7 separate regions of the Homo sapiens genome follow, and all the other regions are linked to region 3. Evidence: promoter capture Hi-C in 16 types of primary human blood cells and fetal thymus (Javierre and others, 2016). All regions are on one chromosome and are shown on one strand. The core of a region is centred on a gene start or on the middle of the fragment in contact, and the rest is flanking DNA. Distances in the headings are between cores, read along the strand shown.

Region 1 (3,260 bases), core at 718-3,217, 470 kb after region 3:
CGCAAGATTCTGTCTTGGGGGGAAAAAAAGATGGTCTCACTCTGTTGCCCAGGCTGGAGTGCAGTAGCACGATCATGGATCACTGAAGCTTCTACCTCCTTTAAAAAAAAAAAAAAAAAAAAAAAAGGAGAGGGTCTCACTCTGTTGCCCAGGCTGGAGTGCAGTAGCACAATCATGGCTCACTGAAGCTTCCACCTCCTCGGCTCAAGCAATCCTCTTGCCTCAGCCTCCCGAGTAGCTGGGACCACAGGCATGAGCCACCACATCCTGCTAATTTTTGTGTTTTTTGTAGAGACTCAGTTTTACCATGTTGCCCAGGCTGGTCTCGAACTCCTAGGCTGAAGTGATCCACCCGCCTCAGCCTCCCAAAGTGCTGGGATTACTGGTGTGAGCCACCATGCCTAGCTGCATGACCTTGTACACAGGAAATCCTAAGGAATCCACACTTCAGAAAACCCAAAAAATTATTAGAACCAATAAATGAGTTCAGCAAAGTTGCAGGATACAATCTCAATATTTAAAAAAATCAATGGAGCTGGGTGCGGCTGGCTCATGCCTATAATCCCAGAGCTTTGGGAGGCCAAAACAGGAGCATCCCTTGAGCCCAGGAATTTGAGACCAGCCTGGGCAACACAGCGAGACTCCATCTCTACCAAAAAATTAACAAAAAATATTAGCCACGTGCAGCAGCATGTGCCAGTAGAACTGCATTCAAAATAGCATCAAAAAGAATAAAACTCTTAGGAATAAATTTAACCAAAGAAGTGCAGGACTTTTTCACTGAAAACTGTAAAACATAGATAGAAATTAAAGAAGATCTAAATAAATGAAAAGACAACCCATGCTCATGGGAAATAATATTGTTAAGATGATAATACTCTCCAATTTGTCTATATATTCAACAAAATCAAAATCCCAGATGGCTTTCTGCAGAAATTGACAAGCTGCTATTATTCATATGGAAATGTAATGAACCCAAAACAGTTAAAAAAATCTCAAAACAGAAAACAAGTCAGAAACTCACACTTCTAATTTCAACACTGCCAAGTTACAGTAATTAAAACAGTATGGTACTAGAATAAAGGCAGACATGGAGATCAGTGGAATAGAATTCATAGACCAGAAACAAACCTTTACTTTTATGGTCAACTGATTTTCAATTAAAACAAAAAAGTGCCAAGACAATTCAAGGAGAAAGAACAATTTTTTCAACAAACAGTGTTGAAACAACTGGGTATCCACATCGAAAAGAATGAAGTTGTACCCCTACCTCACAGTGTGTAGAAAAATTAACTCCAAATGAATCACAGACCTAAATGTAAGAGCTAAAACTGTAACTCTTGGAAGAAAACATAGGAATAAATCTTTGTGACCTTGGTTTAGGCAATGATTTATTAGACATGACACCGAAAAGCACAAGAAACAAAAGAAAAAACAAATTGGACCTCATCAAAATTATTAAAAACATTTGTACTTCAATAAGAAAATGAAAAGAAAACCCAAAGAATGAGAGAAAATATCTGCAATCATACATCTTATAGGGGAACAGTATACAGAATTTTAAAGAACTCGTGATTCCACAATAAAACAGCAAATAACCCAATGAAAACGCAGCCAAATAAGCTGAATAAACATTTCTTCAAGAAGATACAGAAATGCCCAATAAGTACATGAAAAGATGCTCAATCTCATTAGGGAACTGCAAACCAAATCACAGTGAGGTAACACTTCATAACCATTAGGATGACTAAAAGTAAAAGACAGGCAATGGCAAGTGTTAGCAAGAATGTGGCAAAATTAGAATGTTCATTCCTTGCTGGTGAGACTGTAAAAGGTGCAACCACTTTGGAAAATTCTAACAGTTATCCAAAATGTAAACATACAGTTATTATGTGACCCAAAAATTCCACTGCTAGAGAAAGAAAAACTTAGGTCTACATAAAAATGCATATACAAATGTTCAACGCAGGCCAGGTGCGATGGCTCACGGATGTAATCCCAACACCTTGAGAAGCTGAGATGGGAGGATCTCTTGAGCCCAGCCAGGAGTTTGAGACCAGCCTGGGCAATATAATGAGACCGGATCTCAATTAAAAAAAAAAGTTCAAAGCAACATTATTCTTAACAGCCCAAAGGTGGAAATAATCCAAATGTCTATCAACTAATAAATGGATTTTTCAAATGCAGTATGTCCATGCAATAAAAAATTTATTCAAAATAAATAGGAATGAAGTACTGATACATGCAACAACATGTATAAACCTGGAAAACATTATTTTTAATGAAAGAAGCCAGTCACAAAATGACCACACTTTATATGAAATGTCCAGAATAGGCAAATCCATACACACCGAAAGTAGCTTAGTGGTTGCCAATGGATGAGGGAAGAGAGAATGGGGAGTGACTGACTAGTAATAGCTATGGGGTTTCTTTTTGGGGTCATGAAAATATTCTACAATTAGGAACATTTGTACAACTCTGTAAATATACTAGAAACCACTGGATTTTCCACTTTAAAAGGGTAGATTTTATTATCTATAAAACTGAATAACAACATTGCCAATGGGACTGCAAAATTATACAGATATAACCACTTTGGAAAAGTTTGTCAGTTTCTTATAGAGTTAAACATCAAATTACCATAGGTTCTGGCAATTACATACTTAGGCATTTATCTCAGAGAAATGAAAACTTATGTTCACACAAAAACCTGTACACAAATGTTTATAGCAGTTTTATTTGCAATAACCAAAACCTGAAAACAGCCTAGAGGTCCTTCAATAATAAATGTTAATCCAAACTCTGGTATATCCATTATATGGAACACTACTCAGCAATTAAAACAAAGAAACTATTGGCCAGGCACAGTGGCTCATGCCTGTAATCCTAACACTTTGAGAGGCCGAGGTGGGTGGATTGCATTGCCTGAGCTCAGGAGTTCAAGACCAGCCTGGGCAACACGGTGAAACCCTGTCTCTACTAAAATACAAAAGATTAGCCAGGCATGGCAGCAGGTGCCTGTAGTACCAGCTACTTGGGAGGCTGACGCAGGAGAATTGTTTGAACTGGGGAGGCGGAAAGTTGCAGTGAGCCGAGATCGCGCTATTGCACTCCAGCCTGGGCAAGAGAGTGAGACTCCAACTCAAAAAAAAAAAAAAAAAAGACAAAGAAACTACTGATATGCACAACAACTTCGATAAATCATGAGAGTTTTATGTTGTATTAAAAAAAAAAAAACTTCAGACCGGGCATGGTGGCTC
Region 2 (3,286 bases), core at 554-3,053, 420 kb after region 3:
ATTACTATGTATTTCTAATGAGTTTTATCACTATGAAATGCCCTTCTTTATCTCCAGTACTGTCTTGAAGTCTACTTATCTAATATTAATATAACAACTCCATCTTATACTTACTGTTTGCATGCTACACCTTTCCTCATACATTTACTTTCAATCTATCTGTGTCATTATTTTTAAAATGCATCTCTGGTAGACAGAATACAGGAAGTCTTGTTTTCTATCCAATGTATGAATCTCTACCTTCAAATAAAACACTTAATCTATTTTCAATTAAGGTAATTATTCATAGACCTGACCTAGGTTTGTAAGTTTGCTATTTGTTTTCTTTACATCCTGATATGGTTTGGCTGTGTCTCCACCCAAATCTCATCTTGAATTGTAGTTCCCATAATCCTCACACGTCGTGGAAGGGACCTGGTGGGAGGTAACTGCATCATGGAGCAGTTACCCTCATGCTATTCTCGTGATAATGAGTGAGTTCTAAGGAGATCTGATGGTTTTATAAGGGGCTTTCCCCCAACTTTGCTCTCATTCTGTTCCTTGCTGCCACCCTGTGAAGGACATGTTTGCTTCCCCTTCCTCCATGATTGTAAGTTTCCTGAGGCCTCCCCAGCCATGCTGAACTGGGTCAATTAAACCTCTTTCCTTCATAAATTACCCAGTTTCGAGTATGTCTTTATTAGCAGTATGAGAACAGACTGACACACATCTCATTTGTTTTATATTCTGCTGTTCCTTCCTTTATACCTTTTTTCATTTTCTCTAAATACATTTCAGAATTCCATTTTGACTTCTCTTGTTTTTTAGTTATCACCTCTTTGCATTTTTTTCTTTTCCAGTGTTTGTTCTAGGAATTATAATGTATATCTTTAACTTTGCAGTGTACTTAAAGCTAATTCTACCCCTTCATAAAATAAAGACCACAGTAAGCACACAGCTCCATCAACCTAGACTCATCCTTTATACACAGCAGTCATATATAAATGCCATATTGTAACATTATAATTTCTGCTTTAAACAGTCACAACTGTATATTTCTTAATGGAGTGGGGAAGACTTACATTTTTACCAATTGCAGTGCTCTTCATTCCTGAAGTTCTGAGTTTCAGCTGGTAACACTTTCCTTCAGCTTGAAGTATCTCCTTAAACATTTCTTGTAGTATAAAGATTTTCTTAGCTAGAAAGTATGTTTTCTTATTTGGCTACAGAATTCTGAGTTGATTTTTATTTTCCCAGTACTTTAAAGGTGTTTATAGCCTGCTGGCCTGCATTATTTCTGATAAGAAGTCAGGTCTGTCAAAGATCAGATGGTTGTAGATATGTGGCATTATTTCTGAGGGCTCTGTTCTGTTCCACTGATCTATATCTCTGTTTTGGTACCAGTACCATGCAGTTTTGGTTACTGTAGCCTTGTAGTATAGTTTGAAGTCAGGTAGCGTGATGCCTCCGGCTTTGTTCTTTTGGCTTAGGATTGACTCGGCAATGCGGGCTCTTTTTTGGTTCCATATGAACTTTAAAGTAGTTTTTTCCAATTCTGTGAAGAGAGTCATTGGTAGCTTGATGGGGATGGCATTGAATCTATAAATTACCTTGGGCAGTATGGCCATTTTCACGACATTGATTCTTTCTACCCATGAGCACGGAATGTTCTTCCATTTGTTTGTATCCTCTTTTATTTCATTGAGCAGTGGTTTGTAGTTCTCCTTGAAGAGGTCCTTCACGTCCCTTGTAAGTTTGGATTCCTAGGTATTTTATTCTCTTTGAAGCAATTGTGAATGGGAGTTCACTCATGATTTGGCTCTCTGTTTGTCTGTTATTGGTCTAGAAGAATGCTTGTGATTTTTGCAAATTGATTTTGTATCCTGAGACTTTGCTGAAGTTGCTTATCAGCTTAAGGAGATTTTGGGCTGAGATGATGGTGTTTTCTAGATATGCAATCATGTCATCTGCAAACAGAGACAATTTGACTTCCTCTTTTCCTAATTGAATACCCTTTATTTCCTTCTCCTGCCTGACTGCCCTGGCCAGAACTTCCAACACTATGTTGAATAGGAGTGGTGAGAGAGGGCATCCCTGTCTTGTGCCAGTTTTCGGGAAAGGATTCCCTATTTAATAAATGGTGCTGGGAAAACTGGCTAGCCATATGTAGAAAGCTGAAACTGGATCCCTTCCTTACACCTTATACACAAATTAATTCAAGATGGATTAAAGACTTAAATGTTAGACCTAAAACCATAAAAACCCTAGAAGAAAACCTAGGCAATACCATTCAGGACATAGGCATGGGGAAGGACTTCATGTCTACAACACCAAAAGCAATGGCAACAAAAGCCAAAATTGACAAATGGGATCTAATTAAACTAAAGAGCTTCTGCACAGCACAAGAAACTACCATCAGAGTGAACAGGCAACCTACAAAATGGGAGAAAATTTTCGCAACCTACCTCATCTGACAAAGGGCTAATATCCAGAATCTACAATGAACTCAAACAAATTTACAAGAAAAAAACAAACAACCCCATCAAAAAGTGGGTGAAGGATATGAACAGACACTTCTCAAAAGAAGACATTTATGCAGCCAAAAAACACATGAAAAAATGCTCACCATCACTGGCCATCAGAGAAATGCAAATCAAAACCATAATGAGATACCATCTCACACCAGTTAGAATGGTGATCATTAAAAAGTCAGGAAACAACAGGTGCTGGAGAGGATGTGGAGAAACAGGAACACTTTTACACTGTTGGTGGGAGTGTAAACTAGTTCAACCATTGTGGAAGTCAGTGTGGCGATTCCTCAGGGATCTAGAACTAGAAATACCATTTGACCCAGCCATCCCATTACTGGGTATATACCCAAAGGACTATAAATCATGCTGCTATAAAGACACACGCACACCTATGTTTACTGCGGCACTATTCACAATAGCAAAGACTTGGAACCAACCCAAATGTCCAACAATGATAGACTGGATTAAGAAAATGTGGCACATATCCACCATGGAATACTATGCAGCCATAAAAAATGAAGAGTTCATGTCCTTTGTAGGGACATGGATCAAACTGGAAACCATCATTCTCAGCAAACTATCGCAAGGACAAAAAACCAAACACCGCATGTTCTCACTCATAGGTGGGAACTGAACAATGAGAACACTTGGACACAGGAAGGGGAACATCACACTCCGGGGACTGTTGTGGGATGGGGGAAGTGGGGAGGGATAGCATTAGGAGGTATACCTAATGTTAAATGATGAGTTAATGGGTGCAGCACACCAACATGGCA
Region 3 (3,048 bases), core at 11-2,510:
AGCCTCCCAAAATGCTGGGATTACCGGCATGAGCCACTGTGCTCGGCTGAAAAAAACCATATTTTTAATTTAAAATAATAAATGGGTCTGACCAGAAATGCCTGCCTCAAATTGCAGGACACATGACAAAGCCCATTCTTACTTAAGACATTTTCAGTGTGCGATGGGTCTACCGGGATGTAACCCCATCGTGAGTCGAGGCCCATCTGCACCCTGCTATAGCTACTGGTAGATCTTACCTGTTTCCCAAAAAGGACCCAACTACTTTAGGTTCAAGGCACTTTTTTGGAATATTTAACAGGGAAAGAGCCTGGAACTAAAAACAGGTCTAACGCAAGATGCCGCCACACGATGGCACTGCTTCCGTAGACCTGGAAGAAACGCGGGCGCGGGAGCTGGCGGCGGACGCCCGGGTCTGCGGGGTCGGGGAGTAGCGTCCGGCCGGAGAGCCCGCACCTCGAGGAGCCGGCGGAGGACGCGGTGTCGTGACCGCGTCTCCCCCATCTGCTCTGCTTTTGGCGACAGCGTCCCGTCGGCCTTTCGGCCAGGACGCAGCAGCCGCGTCTCTGGGCCTCGACCCCCAGGGCCGGCCGGACCCGGGACCTCCGAGGAGAGCAGCGAGAACCGGCCCGGATTCCCCGAGGCGCCCGAGTGCGGTGCGGGCAGCCCTCCCCGCCTGCCAGGCCGCCGCTGTCCCCACGTCTGGTCCCCCACGCCTCTTCCCGCATCTGGTCCCACGGTGGAGGCGCGGGGCGAGGGCCTCACGCGCGTGCCCACGGTCGGGGGGCGTCCTTGGACGCGCGGGTCCTCTCCCACGGGTCTCCACCCCCCGCCCTCCGGCGACAGGAGCCGGCCTGGGACGCGCGCGCTGCGGCCAAGTCCTGGTTTTGATTTCACTCCCAACCCCGAGGAGCGAGGAGGTTCCAAGCCCACAAACAGGAAGAAGAGAAGGCCCTGGAGTGCTGGCAGAGGGAGTGTCATTCCCAGCAGCGCAGCGCAGGCCGGCCCGGGCCGGGGAGGGAGCAGCAGCGCGGGCACCCTCCTGCAACGTGGGCTGGGGGTCCCCAGGGCCGGGGAGGGGGCCCCGGGGAGGAACTGAGAGGGGGCGCGCCCCGGGAAGGCTCGGGGCGGCTCCGGGGGGCTCCCAGGGCGCCCCCGCCCCTTCCCCCGCGGCCCCGGGGCGCCCCCGCGGTGCCGGAGTCGGGGCGGGGCGTGCACGTCAGCCGGGGCTAGAAAAGGCGGCGGGGCTGGGCCCAGCGAGGTGACAGCCTCGCTTGGACGCAGAGCCCGGCCCGACGCCGCCATGAGCGCCGCGCTCTTCAGCCTGGACGGCCCGGCGCGCGGCGCGCCCTGGCCTGCGGAGCCTGCGCCCTTCTACGAACCGGGCCGGGCGGGCAAGCCGGGCCGCGGGGCCGAGCCAGGGGCCCTAGGCGAGCCAGGCGCCGCCGCCCCCGCCATGTACGACGACGAGAGCGCCATCGACTTCAGCGCCTACATCGACTCCATGGCCGCCGTGCCCACCCTGGAGCTGTGCCACGACGAGCTCTTCGCCGACCTCTTCAACAGCAATCACAAGGCGGGCGGCGCGGGGCCCCTGGAGCTTCTTCCCGGCGGCCCCGCGCGCCCCTTGGGCCCGGGCCCTGCCGCTCCCCGCCTGCTCAAGCGCGAGCCCGACTGGGGCGACGGCGACGCGCCCGGCTCGCTGTTGCCCGCGCAGGTGGCCGCGTGCGCACAGACCGTGGTGAGCTTGGCGGCCGCAGGGCAGCCCACCCCGCCCACGTCGCCGGAGCCGCCGCGCAGCAGCCCCAGGCAGACCCCCGCGCCCGGCCCCGCCCGGGAGAAGAGCGCCGGCAAGAGGGGCCCGGACCGCGGCAGCCCCGAGTACCGGCAGCGGCGCGAGCGCAACAACATCGCCGTGCGCAAGAGCCGCGACAAGGCCAAGCGGCGCAACCAGGAGATGCAGCAGAAGTTGGTGGAGCTGTCGGCTGAGAACGAGAAGCTGCACCAGCGCGTGGAGCAGCTCACGCGGGACCTGGCCGGCCTCCGGCAGTTCTTCAAGCAGCTGCCCAGCCCGCCCTTCCTGCCGGCCGCCGGGACAGCAGACTGCCGGTAACGCGCGGCCGGGGCGGGAGAGACTCAGCAACGACCCATACCTCAGACCCGACGGCCCGGAGCGGAGCGCGCCCTGCCCTGGCGCAGCCAGAGCCGCCGGGTGCCCGCTGCAGTTTCTTGGGACATAGGAGCGCAAAGAAGCTACAGCCTGGACTTACCACCACTAAACTGCGAGAGAAGCTAAACGTGTTTATTTTCCCTTAAATTATTTTTGTAATGGTAGCTTTTTCTACATCTTACTCCTGTTGATGCAGCTAAGGTACATTTGTAAAAAGAAAAAAAACCAGACTTTTCAGACAAACCCTTTGTATTGTAGATAAGAGGAAAAGACTGAGCATGCTCACTTTTTTATATTAATTTTTACAGTATTTGTAAGAATAAAGCAGCATTTGAAATCGCCCCTGCTTCCTATATTCGCAGTGACTCCCGCCCGCCCGCCGGTGGCGCAGGACCCGGCTCGGGAAGGGTGCGTTCCGGACCCGCAGCCAGCGAGCACCAGGGAGCCCGGGCGCCAGGTGTGTGTGTGGGGGGGGCGGGGGGATGGGGCGCAGGCCCGAGCTACTCAGGAGAGAGGGTCTGTCGCTTTTAAAACGCATTAAAGGCTCTCTCCTGGCCTTATTTAACTTGCCTAAGCTAGGTGGAGCACGGCTGAGCTCAGGTAAGCTAGCAGCTTTCCAGCAGAAGGTGTTCTCCCGAAGAACGCAGACCTGGGGAAGGGTTGACTTTTTGGGGGCCCCTGCTGAGAACAGTTCAAGAGCTCCCTAACTGTAGAGGCTGCTGGAGGGGCGAGGGGCAGAACCCCGGGCTGAATCATCTCCCGCTTTCCCGGGACTTTGCTTTCACTTTCCTCAGTCTTGTGGACAGAGTCAAGTAGATTTTCAAAAGTGCTCCAGAAAGGCCGGAATAGTCATGTAGTGGATGAAAAGGGCAGTCACA
Region 4 (2,942 bases), core at 144-2,643, 370 kb after region 3:
GGGACGCCTCACCTTCTGACCCCACCTTCAGCCTCTGTTCAGCTGCTCTCTCAGGCAGACACACCCAAGCAGGGAACGGTCAGCTCCAAAAAGACGTCTCATCACTCTCATCTGCAACTTACTTGCTGTCCTCTGACCTATACCACCTGGTTTTATCTTTACCTTGCTTTGGCTTCATGTCTTTTTTTTAATAGGTACATTTTACCTTTCCCACTGTATCAGGAACTCTGTGTGTTTGTGTGTGTGTGTGTGTGTGTGCTTGTGCATGTATGTGTAAACATACATATTTTTTCTTATCCCATAGCATTTATGCAGCACACACAAGAAATTAAATGCATTTTGCTTTTCTTTTTTCTCACAATCCAATCTGCACTTCCTGTCCTGACCTTTCACCTATTTTTATAATCTCTTTATCTTTACTTGCCTGGAAGAAGTCTTTAGAATAGAGGTTAATAAAATAGGTCATCCACCCTTGCCTCTGCATGAATGAATTAACAGCATAAATAACAGCCCAGAGGCATAGAAAAGTACATTTATTTCATGTTTCAATTAAATAAAATTTAAAACTCTTAAAACAGGAGTAAACAAAAAATTCTAGGAAAAAGGTCAAGAAGCTTTAATGCAGGAAAAGGAACAGAACTTGGAAAATGTGCATTTTCACATGCAAAAGATGGGAAACAATCTGAAAGTCCGCCTAGAGAGGACAGCTAAACAGATGAGGGTACTGCCATGCAATGCAAGGCTGCACACCATGGGGGTTAAAAAAGAAACCTTCCCATGTTGCTCGGAAAGACCCGAGGCATGCTAAGATGTGCATGGGTCTCCTGAGCAGTTGTGGAACTTGCTGCCATGTGTCTATAAAGGGCAGGCAACATATCTTCAAAAACATTTATTTAAGTCTCTGGAAGAACACAATAATGATGTTTGCCGATAGGGAAAGGTAAATGGGGACAGGTGTGAGGAGGCTTCCATCCTTTCTCATGCCACTTGGACCACGTGAATGTGGAAGGTGGCCAGGGAGACCCTCTCTGCAAGTCCAGGAATAGGGCGGATTCACCCACAGATTGTTATAAAGTTCAATGTCCAGGAAGGAGCTTGATGCCTCCAAAGGAAAAACACATGTATGTCTTTGCCTGTTCTAGGTTCTCTGGCAGAAGGAAACAAGCCATGCAGGTCTTACTCTCCAAAATACTTGCAGACTCCTTTTGCTACAGATGCTGTGCTGTACATGCACAGAGAAGCACAAGTTGTAATGGCCACAGGCTTGCTGTGGGGAAGACGGAGGGCAGCAGCAGGGTTCTGCCAGGGCACCCACACATGACGGGGCATAAAGGCCCATCCATCTGCTACCTGCCTCCATGCATGCAGGGAAAGTCAGGAAAATCACCTGAGACTCCACAGGATTTACAGATTCAAGACAAGGTCTGATTACAAACTCAGAAAAAAGGTAATGATTACAGGCAAATCTGCTTTTTAACAGACTTTTTTTTGGATTATCAGGCTGGCATTATCAGAAAATGCCACCGAAAAGACTTCCTGAAAAACATAGTATTTAAAAACCTCAAATCATAGTAAGATTTGCTGCAACTGAAAGAAACCAAATGAACATTGGATATATTCCAAATGAGAATTCTATTTGTGAACTGAAGAAAAACTGGGGCCTGCCAAACTGATAATTAAACAACTGCGCACCCCGAACCAACTAGTGGAATGACTCCCTCCTTCTGGGGTAGGTTCGTCACACCTTACATACTGAAAAACAAAACTTGCATTGAAGCTCTGCATCAAAAACACTTCTTGGAACAAGAGCCAGGGTTCTTTTGATTACTTTTGACCCAAATTAGGCCAACACGATGGCAGTAACTCTCCAGGTGAACTTCAGCTGGGAGCTACCAGGAGGCTCCAGCTGCAGAATACAGGTCAAGGACACAGAAGGGACCAAAGGAACATCGACTCATAGTAACCCTGGCTTGCTGTCCAAGAAGGCAGAAGCCCTGTGAGAGTCTAGAAGAGGCTGAGGTCAGTTTCAAGCCTATACAGGATTAAATGTGACCAGTTACTGTTCTAGGCAAAATGTACAAAATACTTTCATCAAGAACCAAACGTTTTATTTCCTATTTAGCTGAAGAATTAATACTTTTACAGAAGCAATGAGTGAGCACAAAAAGCTTATTTTCCCATTCTCCATGTTCTCTCCTGAAACAATGATCCAAGTGTATTTAGAACAAAGAATCCTACCTTCAAATGAGTGTAGACCCTCTACAGGGGTATCTACCACGTTCCTTCATGTCCCCAAAATAGCTCATAGACCTTGCTAGAAGAGAGTGATGTGATTTTCCTTACCTACCACCAAAATGAAAGAGAGAGAGACAGAGAGAGAAAAAAAAAAAAAACCTACAGAACAGAAAAACCACCTAGATACCACTCTGGTAGCTGGCCACCACACCCTCCTAACTAGAACGTGAGCTCAGGGGTCCCCAAACTGAACTGTAGTATAGAGCACAGTTCAGTTCTATGGATGGCAAAATCAGAAAGGGAGTATTTTTTTTAAAATATCATTTCGATAACATAAATAACTGTTCACTACGGTTCCAAACATAAGCATTGTGGAAAGTAGCTATCCAACAAGCTTCCTCCCCAGAGATCACTGCCAGAGCCTGGGGCGGGAAGAAGGGAAACTAGGAGAGTGAAGAGTCTGAAATACTCTTTGACCTAATTTTTTTTTTTTTTTTTTAAAAAAGGTTGGGCGTGGTAGCTCACGCCTGTAATCTCAGGCTGAGGTGGGTGGATCTAGAGGTCAGGAGATCGAGACCATTCTGGCTAACACAGTGAAACCCCATCTCTACTAAAAATACAAAAAAATTAGCCGGGAGTAGCGGCGGGCGCCTGTAGTCCCAGCTACTTGGGAGGCTGAGGCAGGAGAATGGTGTGAACCCGGGAGG
Region 5 (3,132 bases), core at 550-3,049, 390 kb after region 3:
AAGGTTTAAAATCGCTAATCTTAGCAATCACACTCAGAGCTGCTCAGAGCATTTTCTTGGGAATCTGCAAATATTCTTTGTTATAATTTACATAATTCCATTCATACAAATTTCATTAAAATGGGGATTACAATAACAGCAAATTTGTTGGATTATTAAGAAAAACCCGATCATTCCAAGATGGCTGAATAGGAACAGCTCCAGTCTAAAGCTCCCAGCATGAGCGACGCAGAAGACGGGTGATTTCTGCATTTCCAAAGGAGGTACCGGGTTCATCTCACTGGGACTGGCTGGACAGTGGGTGCAGCCCACGGAGTGTGAGCCGAAGCAGGGCGGGGCATCGCCTCACCCAGGAAGCACAAAGGGTCAGGGAATTCCCTTTCCTAGCCAAGGGAAGCCATGACAGATGGTCCCTGGAAAATCGGGACACTCCCGCCCTAATACTGCGCTTTTCCAATGGTCTTAGCAAACAGCACACCAGGACATTACATCCCGCGCCGGGCTCAGTGGGTCCCACGCCCACGGACCCTTGCTCACTGGTAGCACAGCAGTCCGAGATAGAACTGCGAGGTGGCAGCGATGCTGGGGGAGGTGCGACTGCCATTGCTGAGGCTTCAGTAGGTAAACAAACTGGCCAGGAAGCTCGAACTGGCTGGAGCCCACTGCAGCTCAACAAGCCTGCCTGCCTCTGTAGCCTCCACCTCTGGGGGCAGGGCATAGCTGAACAAAAGGCAGCAGAAACTTCTGCAGACTTAAACATCCCTGTCTGACAGCTTTGAAGAAAGCAGTGGTTCTCCTAGAATGGAGTTTGAGATCTGAGAACAGACACACTGCCTCCTCAAGGGGGTCCCTGACCCCCAAGCAGCCTAACTGGGAGACATCTCCCAGTAGGGGCTGACTGACACCTCATACAGCCGGGTGCCCCTCTGAGACGAAGCTCCCAGAGGAAGGATCAGGCAGCAACATTTGCTGTTCTGCAATATTTGCTGTTCTGCAGCCTCCACTGGTGATCCCCAGGCAAACAGGGTCTGGAGTGGACCTCCAACAAACTTCAACAGACCTGCAGCTGAGGGTCCTGTTAGAAGGAAAACCAACAAAGAGACAGGAATAGCATCAACATCAACAAAAAGGACATCCACACTAAAACCCCATCTGTAGGTCACCATCATCAAAGACCAAAGGTAGATAAAACCACAAAGTTGGGGAGAAACCAGAGCAGAAAAGCTGAAAATTCTAAAAACCAGAGGGCCTCTTCCCCTCCAAAGGATCGCAGCTCCTCACGAGCAATCAAATAAAGCTGGACGGAGAATGACTTTGACAAGTTGACAGAAGTAGGCTTCAGAATATCGGTAATAACAAACTTCTCAAAGCTAAAGGAGGATGTTTAAACCCATCGTAAGGAAGCTAAAAACGTTGAAAAAAGATTAGACAAATGGCTAACTAGGATAAATAGCGCAGAGAAGACCTTAAATGAACTGATGGAGCTGAAAGCCACGGCACGAGAACTACGTGACGCATGCACAAGCTTCAGCAGCCGATTCATTGAAGTGGAAGACAGATGACTGAAGATCAAATGAATGAAATGAAGCGAAAAGAGAAGTTTAGAGAAAAAAGAGTAAAAAGAAACGAACAAACCCTCCAAGAAATATGAGACTATGTGAAAACACTAAATCTATGTTTGATTGGTGTACCTGAAAGTTACAGGGAGAATGGAACCAAGATGGAAAACACTCTTCAGCATATTATCCATTATCCAGGAAAACTTCCCCAACTTCGCAAGGCAGGTCAACATTCAAAATCAGAAAATACAGAGAACGACACAAAGATACTCCTCGAGAAGAGCAACTCCAAGACACATAATTGTCAGATTCACCAAGGTTGAAATGAAGGAAAAAATGTTAAGGGCAGCCAGAGAGAAAGGTCAGGTTACGCACAAAGGGAAGCCCATCAGACTAACAGAGGATATCTCGGCAGACACTCTGCAAGTCAGAAGAGAGTGGGGGCCAATATTCAACATTCTTAAAGAAAAGAATTTTCAACCCAGAATTTCACATCCAGCCAAACTAAGCTTCAAAAGTGAAGGAGAAATAAAATCCTTTATAGAAAAGCAAATGCTGAGAGAGTTTGTCACCACCAGGCCTGCCCTAAAAGAACTCCTGAAGGAAGCACTAAACATGAAAAGGAACAACCAGTACCAGCCACTGCAAAAACATGCCAAATTGTAAAGACCATCGAGGCTAGGAAGAAACTGCATCAAATAACGAGCAAAATAACCAGCTAACATCATAATGACGGGATCAAATTCACACCTAACAATATTAAATTTAAATGTAAATGGGCTAAATGCCCCAATTAAAAGACACAGACGAGCAAATTGGATAGAGCCAGGACCCATCAGTGTGCTGTATTCAGGAGACCCAACTCACCTGCAAAGACACACATAGGCTCAAAACAAAGGAACGGAGGAAGATCTACCAAGCAAACGGAAAACAAACAAAAAAAAGCAGGGGTTGCAATCCTAGTCTGATAAAACAGACTTTAAACCAACAAAGATCAAAAGAGACAAAGAAGGCCATTACATAATGGTAAAGGGATCAACAAGAAGAGCTAACTATCCTAAATATGTATGCACCCAATAAAGAAGCACCCAGATTCATAAAGCAAGTCCTTACAGATCTACAAAGAGACTTAAAGACTCCTACTACACAATAATAATGGGAGACTTTAACACCCCACTGTCAATATTAGACAGATCAACGAGACAGAAAGTTAACAAGGATATCCAGGAATTGAACTCAGCTCTGCACCTAGTGGACCTAATAGACATCTACAGAACTCTCCACCCAAAATCAACAGAAAATACATTCTTCTCAGCACCACATCACACTTATTCCAAAATTCACCACATAGTCGGAAGTAAAGCACTCCGCAGCAAATGTAAAAGAACAGAAATCATAACAAACTGTCTCTCAGACCACAGTGCAATCAAGTTAGATCTCAGGATTAAGAAACTCACTCAAAACTGCTCAACTACATGGAAACTGAACAACCTGCTCCTGAATGACTACTGGGTAAATAACAAAATGAAGGCAAAAATAAAGGTGTTCTTTGAAACCAGTGAGAACAAAGACA
Region 6 (3,059 bases), core at 531-3,030, 450 kb after region 3:
TCTCTAAAAAAGAAAAGAAAAGAAAGCTCCTTCCCACAAGGAATATGTGTGGTCTGGAAGAAACACTAATCATGAAAAAAACTAACAATATACCAGATGTATGTCATGGAATAATGGTGGCACAAAAAAAATGGAATGTTCCACTTTGCATCGATCAGGAAAAGAGGATTCACTGACAAGATGATGTCTGAAAAAACAGTACTTACAAAGGCACAAAAACATGGAATAGTCAACATTTACTGAACACTTACTACTTTGTGCCACAAACATCTAGAATTACTGAAGTGGCCTATTGTTCACGTTATAAAAGGAAAAATAAACTATTCAGAATATTCTAAGAATCTATATCTATCTAAATAGCTAATAAAATAAACTGAGTACTTGCAAAAGACATTATCAATCTCTATCATTATTATGCATCTGAAAAATAAGTCAAGAAGGAAGTTATCAGCAGGGAGCGGTGGCTCACGCCTGTAATCCTAGACTTCGGGAGGCCGAGGTGGGTGGATCACGAGGTCAGAAGTTCAAGACCAGCCTGGCCAAGATGGTGAAACCCCATCTCTACTAAAAATACAAAAAATTAGCCAGGCATGGTTGTGGGCACCTGTAATCCCAGCTACTCGGGAGACTGAGGCAGAGAATTGCTTGAACCCAGGAGGCAGAGGTTGCAGTGAGCAGAGATCACACCACTGTACTCTAGCCTGGGTGACAGAGTGAGACATTATCTCAAAAAAAAAAAAGAAGGAAGTTATCACTATTTGCAAATTATGAAATGAATTCATGGAAAAGTCAAGAAACCAACTGAAAAATTACTACCGTTAATAAGGAAGTCCAATAAAGGTGGCAAGGTACAAACTACAATACAGAAATCAAATTTAAAGCAGTAGCAAAAACCAATAAAATACCTACAAGAAACTTAAGTGTTGCAGGAAGTCAGGGACCCCGAACAGAGGGACGAGCTGGAGCCACCGCAGAGGAACATAAATTATGTAGATTTCATTTTAATATGGACATATATCAGTTCCCAAAATTAATACTTTTACAAGTTCTTTACTTCAATCTCTGAACATAAATTGTGAAGATTTCATTTTAATATGGACCTTTATCATTCCCCAAATAATACTTTTATAATTTCTTATGCCTGTCTTTACTCTCTTAATCCTGTTATCTTCATAAACTGAGAATGTACATCACCTCAGGACCACTATCGTGTTAAACTGTACAAATTGATTGTAAAATGTGTGTTTGAACAATATGAAATCAGTGCACCTTGAAAAAGAACAGAATAACAGCGATTTTCAGGGAACAAGGGAAAACAACCATAAGGTCTGATGGCCTTTGGGGTCAGGCAGAATACAGCCATATTTTTCTTCTTGCAGAGAGCCTATAAACGGACATGCAAGTAGGGAAGATATTGCTAAATTCTTTTCCCAGCAAGGAATATTAATAATTAATACCCTGGGGAAGGAATGCATTCCTGGGGGGAGGTCTATAAACGGCCACTCTGGGAGTGTCTGTCTTATGCGGTTGGGATAAGAACTGAAATACACCCTGGTCTCCTGCAGTACCCTCAGGTTTATTAGGGTGGGGAAAAAAAATCCACCCTGGTGAATTTGAGGTCAGACCAGTTCTCTGCTCTCCAACCCTGTTTTCTGTTGTTTAAGATGTTTATCAAGACAATATGTGCACAGCTGAACATAGACCCTTATCAGGAGTTTTTGATTTCGCCCTTTGCCTTGTGATCTTTGCTTTGCCCTTTGCCTTGTGATCTTTGCTTTGCCCTTTGCCTTGTGATCTTTATTGGCCTCAGAAGCATGTGATCTTTGTTCTCCTTTTTGCCCTTTGAAGCATGTGATCTTTGTGACCTACTCCCTGTTCGTACACCCCCTCCCCTTTTGAAGTCCTTAATAAAAACCTGCTGGTTTTGTGGCTCAGGTGGGCATCACGGTCCTACTGTTATGTGATGTCACCCCTGGAGGCCCAGCTGTAAAATTCCTCTCCTTGTACTCTTTCTCTTTATTTCTCAGCTGGCCGACACTTAGGGAAAATACAAAGAACCTACGTTGAAATATTGGGGGCGGGTTCCCCCAATACTTAAGAGACATGTAAAACCAAAGTACATGTTTTTAGAAGACTTCAAAAGAACATGAAAGAACAAACAGAAAGATATATACTAAGATTCTGGATGATCTGATCAGAAAAAAATGACCTCTCACTGCCTTGAGGCTGAGCATCTTTTCATAGGTTTGAAAATCATTTATATTTCCTTTTTTGAAAGCAGTTCCTCCATAATCGTTATTTTTGCAATAGTTATCTTTTTCCCCCTAGATTAAGTTCTGATGGTTCTTTATTAGAAAGATCAGCCTTGGTCTGTGACATGAGCCACAGTATTTTCCCTGGTTTTTCTGAATTTTAAATTTTGTGTATGTACATGTAATTTTTTGTAAGCGATGTGGTCTTGCTATGTCACCCAGGATGGACTGCAGCAGCTGTACACAGGCATGATCACAGCACACTGCAGCCCCAAACTCCTGGGCTCAAGTGATCTTCCTGCCACAGCCTCCCAAGTAACTGGGACTACAGACGTATGCCACCCTATCAGACTTATATATGTAATTTTGGCCATGCTGTTTTTCCCTTTATGTTTAGGTGAATTTACCAGCTTTATTCATACAGTTTCTATGTTATGAGTCATTCATTGGAAAGGACTTCCCAAATGTAATGCCTTTTTTCAGCCAGCAGCTGTGGTGCCTGAGACGCACACCCAGGCAGGTGAGCTTCTGAGTCCATGTTCTTAACCATTATGCGTAGCTCTCAAGTCAGAGAGACCTGCAGTTGCTTTCACCATTAGTTTAGTGTGAGTATCTAAGAAAATATGTAACTGTCTGGTGCTTCTGTACCATCTAATTTAAAAGACAGGATAATCATTAGTTATGTCATTCAAAACCTCAGAGACCAGGACTCTAGATTTATAAACCCATGAATTATAGGCACCTGACTGCACAACTAGGTAGTTAAAATCACTACCAGGAATTGATTAGTAACTCATTTCACTTGCT
Region 7 (3,048 bases), core at 529-3,028, 410 kb after region 3:
TGGATGAAATTGGAAACCATCATTCTCAGTAAACTATCGCAAGAACAAAAAACCAAACACCGCATATTCTCACTCATAGGTGGGAATTGAACAATGAGATCACATGGACACAGGAAGGGGAATATCACACTCTGGGGACTGTGGTGGGGTCGGGGGAGGGGGGAGGGATAGCATTGGGAGATATACCTAATGCTAGATGACACATTAGTGGGTGCAGCGCACCAGCATGGCACATGTATACATATGTAACTAACCTGCACAATGTGCACATGTACCCTAAAACTTAGAGTATAATAAAAAAAAAAAAAAAAAAAAAAGAGAAAAAAAAAAAAAAAAAAAAAGTTTAAAAAAATTTTTTAAATAGAAAAAAGCTGACAGAATATATAAGCTGAGATCACGCCACTGCACTCCAGCCTGGACAACAGAGACTCTCTCTCAAAAAAAAATACTTCTGTACAGCTGAACAATATGTTTATGTTTTAAGCTAAGTGTTATTACAAAAGAGCTATTACAAAGTGGTATTACTAAAGAGTCAAAAAGTGAAAAAAATGAAGAAGAAGTAAAAACGTTACAGTAAGCTAAGATTAATTTATTATTGAAGAAAGAAAATTTTTAAAAATAAGTTTAGTGTAGTCTAAGTGTACTATGTTTATAAAGTTGATAGTAGTGTATGGTAATGTCCTAGGCCTTCACATTCACTCAACACTCACTCACTGACTCACCCAGAGCACCTTTCAGTTCTACAAGCTCCATTCATGGTAAGTGCCCTATACATGTATACCACTGTTTATCTTTTATGCCATATTATAATGTACCTTTTCTATGCTTAGATACATAAATAACTACCTTTGTGTTCCAATTGTCTACAGTATCCAGTACAGTAAAATGCTATAAAGGTTTGCAGCCTAGATATAGGCTTAACCATATAGTGTAGGTGTGTAGTAGACTAAACCACCTAGGTTTGAGTAAGAACACTCTATGATGTTCGCACAAGGACAAAATCACCTAATAATGACACATTTCTTCAGGATGTATTCTGATCACTAAATGACATCTGACTGCTTTAAAAAAGAAAAATGATCAAAATCAATAATCTAAGCTTTACCTTAGAAACTAATAATTGGCCAAAAGCCTTAACAGATATCTCTCCAAAGAAGATACAGATACAGATGGCAAATAAGTACAAGAAAAGATGCTCCACATCATATATTACCAGAGAAATGCAAATTTAAACAACACTGAGATATCATGACATACTTACTAGAATGGCTAAAATTCCTAACACTGACACCACCAAATGCTGACAAGAATATGGAGCAACAGGAACTCTTTTGCTGGTGGGAATGCAAAATGTTACAGCCACTTTGGAAGACAGTTTGGCAGTTTCTTATAAAACTAAAAATACTCTTACCAATACAATCCAATAGTTGCTCTGCTTGGTATCTACTCAAAGGAGTTGAAAGTTTATCTCCACACGGAAACTTCCAAATGTATGTTTATAGCACCTTCAATCATAATTGCCAAAACCTAGAAGCAACCCAGATGTCTCTTGGTAGATGAATGGATAAAGTGTTATATCCAGACAATGGAACATAATTCAGTGCTGAAAAGAAATAAGTTATCAAGCTATGAAAAGACATGGAGGAAAGTTCAATACATATTACTAAGTGAAAGAAGGCACTCCAAAAAAGCCATACTATATGATTCCAACTGTATGACATTCTGGATAAGGCAAAACTATAGAGATGGTAAAAAGATCAGTGGTTTCGAGAGATTAGGGTGGAGAGAATGATTACTAGGCAGAGCACAGAGGATTTTTAGTGCAGTGTCACTGCTCTGTATGACATAATGGTAGACATATATTTTTATACATTTGTTCAAACTCACAGAATATACAACGCCAAGAATTAACCCTGATAGAAACTAGTGACTTTGCGTAAGAAAGATGTGTATACACGGGTTCATCAACTGTAACAAATATACCATTCTGGTGGGGGATATGTTGATAATAGGAAAGCTATGCATATGTGGGGGAGGGAATTATGGGATACCTCTGTACCTTCCTTTCAGTTTTTCTGTAAAACTAAAGATGCTTTAAAAAAAAAAAGCACCTTAAGAAAAGCACCACCACCAAAAAAATGAAGGCATGATAAATACATTTTTAGATAAACAAAAACTGATTATTGCTTGCAGACCCACCTGATAAAATATACACACAGAATTTCTTAAGGCTGAAGGAAAGTGACCTAAGAATCCACACAAGTCCACATGAAAAATCTGGGTGTCAGTAAAAGTAATTATCTAATTAAAACTCAGCATATGTGCGTATTTGTTTTCTTAGCTGATTTTAAAAAACTGCACAAAATATGTACGTAATTGTACTATTGTACCTATAACATATAGAAATGTCATATATCTGTGAGTAACAGAAGAGTGGTGGGTGGGAACAAAGCTTTACCAAACTAAGGAAACACCACCAGATGGTAACAGGATTCCATAGGAACCAATGAAGAGAACAAAAAATGGTAAATAAGAAGGGTCATCTAACACTATAAACGTATACTTGCTCTCCTTTCTTTTCCCTTCTATAAAAGACAAAATTATACTAATAATTATAACAGATACAATATGTATAACAATAATAGCATAAAAAGGAGGAAGAGAAAGTAGAGCCATATAGTGGTAATGTTTCTATGCGTGACTGGCATAAAACTAGTAACAAATCTAAGGAAGATTTGGTTGAGATGTACCTGATAAGCACTAAAGCAACCCATGAAATCTCACTCAAAAACATATTGTAGGCTGGGTACAGTGGCTCACACCTGTAATACAACACGTTGCGAGGCCAAGGTGGACAGACCACTTGAGGCTAGGAGTTAGAGACCAGCCTGGCCAACATGGTGAAACCCTGTCTCTACAAAAAAATACAAAAATTGGGTCGGGCGCGGTGGCTCACGCCTGTAATCCCAGCACTTTGGGAGGCTGAGGCGGGCGGATCATGAGGTCAGGAGATCGAGACCATCCTGGCTAACACGGTGAAACCCCATC

Evidence for each region. Contacts are between HindIII fragments. The CHiCAGO score rates a contact against its expected background, and 5 or more counts as called.
Region 1: a contact is called between a fragment that was not itself captured here and the fragment with the promoter of CEBPD in region 3, in 7 of 17 cell types (neutrophils, monocytes, M2 macrophages and 4 more). The highest score is 22.8, in neutrophils.
Region 2: a fragment that was not itself captured here is called in contact with the fragment with the promoter of CEBPD in region 3 in 11 of 17 cell types (neutrophils, monocytes, M1 macrophages and 8 more); the score reaches 35.2 in neutrophils.
Region 4: a fragment that was not itself captured here is called in contact with the fragment with the promoter of CEBPD in region 3 in 7 of 17 cell types (monocytes, M0 macrophages, neutrophils and 4 more); the score reaches 13.1 in monocytes.
Region 5: a fragment that was not itself captured here is called in contact with the fragment with the promoter of CEBPD in region 3 in 1 of 17 cell types (monocytes); the score reaches 6.4 in monocytes.
Region 6: a fragment that was not itself captured here is called in contact with the fragment with the promoter of CEBPD in region 3 in 6 of 17 cell types (neutrophils, monocytes, M1 macrophages and 3 more); the score reaches 24.6 in neutrophils.
Region 7: a fragment that was not itself captured here is called in contact with the fragment with the promoter of CEBPD in region 3 in 9 of 17 cell types (neutrophils, monocytes, M1 macrophages and 6 more); the score reaches 17.6 in neutrophils.

Annotation. Positions count from the first base shown.
Region 1 is chr8:47,266,032-47,269,291 of GRCh38, reverse strand. All of the region lies in intron 1 of SPIDR (scaffold protein involved in DNA repair), which reads right to left. Among named protein-coding and RNA genes, the nearest start is that of SPIDR, 6.7 kb to the right of the region's middle. The HindIII fragment of the contact is 3,553 bases long and covers 191-3,260 here.
Region 2 is chr8:47,311,795-47,315,080 of GRCh38, reverse strand. The region is part of intron 5 of SPIDR (scaffold protein involved in DNA repair); the gene reads right to left. Among named protein-coding and RNA genes, the nearest start is that of SPIDR, 52 kb to the right of the region's middle. The HindIII fragment of the contact is 5,254 bases long and covers 1-3,286 here.
Region 3 is chr8:47,736,376-47,739,423 of GRCh38, reverse strand. It overlaps CEBPD (CCAAT enhancer binding protein delta), which reads left to right and starts at 1,260. Exons shown (of 1, transcript NM_005195.4): 1 at 1,260-2,511. The coding sequence starts at 1,304. The coding sequence ends at 2,113. RefSeq lists silencers at 432-901, 992-1,071, 1,112-1,221, 1,712-1,901 and an enhancer at 1,298-2,236. The HindIII fragment of the contact is 19,422 bases long and covers 1-3,048 here.
Region 4 is chr8:47,363,293-47,366,234 of GRCh38, reverse strand. The region is part of intron 5 of SPIDR (scaffold protein involved in DNA repair); the gene reads right to left. The region is part of intron 1 of LOC107986940 (a long non-coding RNA gene); the gene reads left to right. Among named protein-coding and RNA genes, the nearest start is that of SPIDR, 100 kb to the right of the region's middle. The HindIII fragment of the contact is 1,554 bases long and covers 617-2,170 here.
Region 5 is chr8:47,347,145-47,350,276 of GRCh38, reverse strand. All of the region lies in intron 5 of SPIDR (scaffold protein involved in DNA repair), which reads right to left. Among named protein-coding and RNA genes, the nearest start is that of SPIDR, 88 kb to the right of the region's middle. The HindIII fragment of the contact is 543 bases long and covers 1,528-2,070 here.
Region 6 is chr8:47,285,973-47,289,031 of GRCh38, reverse strand. The region is part of intron 3 of SPIDR (scaffold protein involved in DNA repair); the gene reads right to left. Among named protein-coding and RNA genes, the nearest start is that of SPIDR, 27 kb to the right of the region's middle. The HindIII fragment of the contact is 8,846 bases long and covers 1-3,059 here.
Region 7 is chr8:47,329,259-47,332,306 of GRCh38, reverse strand. The region is part of intron 5 of SPIDR (scaffold protein involved in DNA repair); the gene reads right to left. Among named protein-coding and RNA genes, the nearest start is that of SPIDR, 70 kb to the right of the region's middle. The HindIII fragment of the contact is 1,353 bases long and covers 1,102-2,454 here.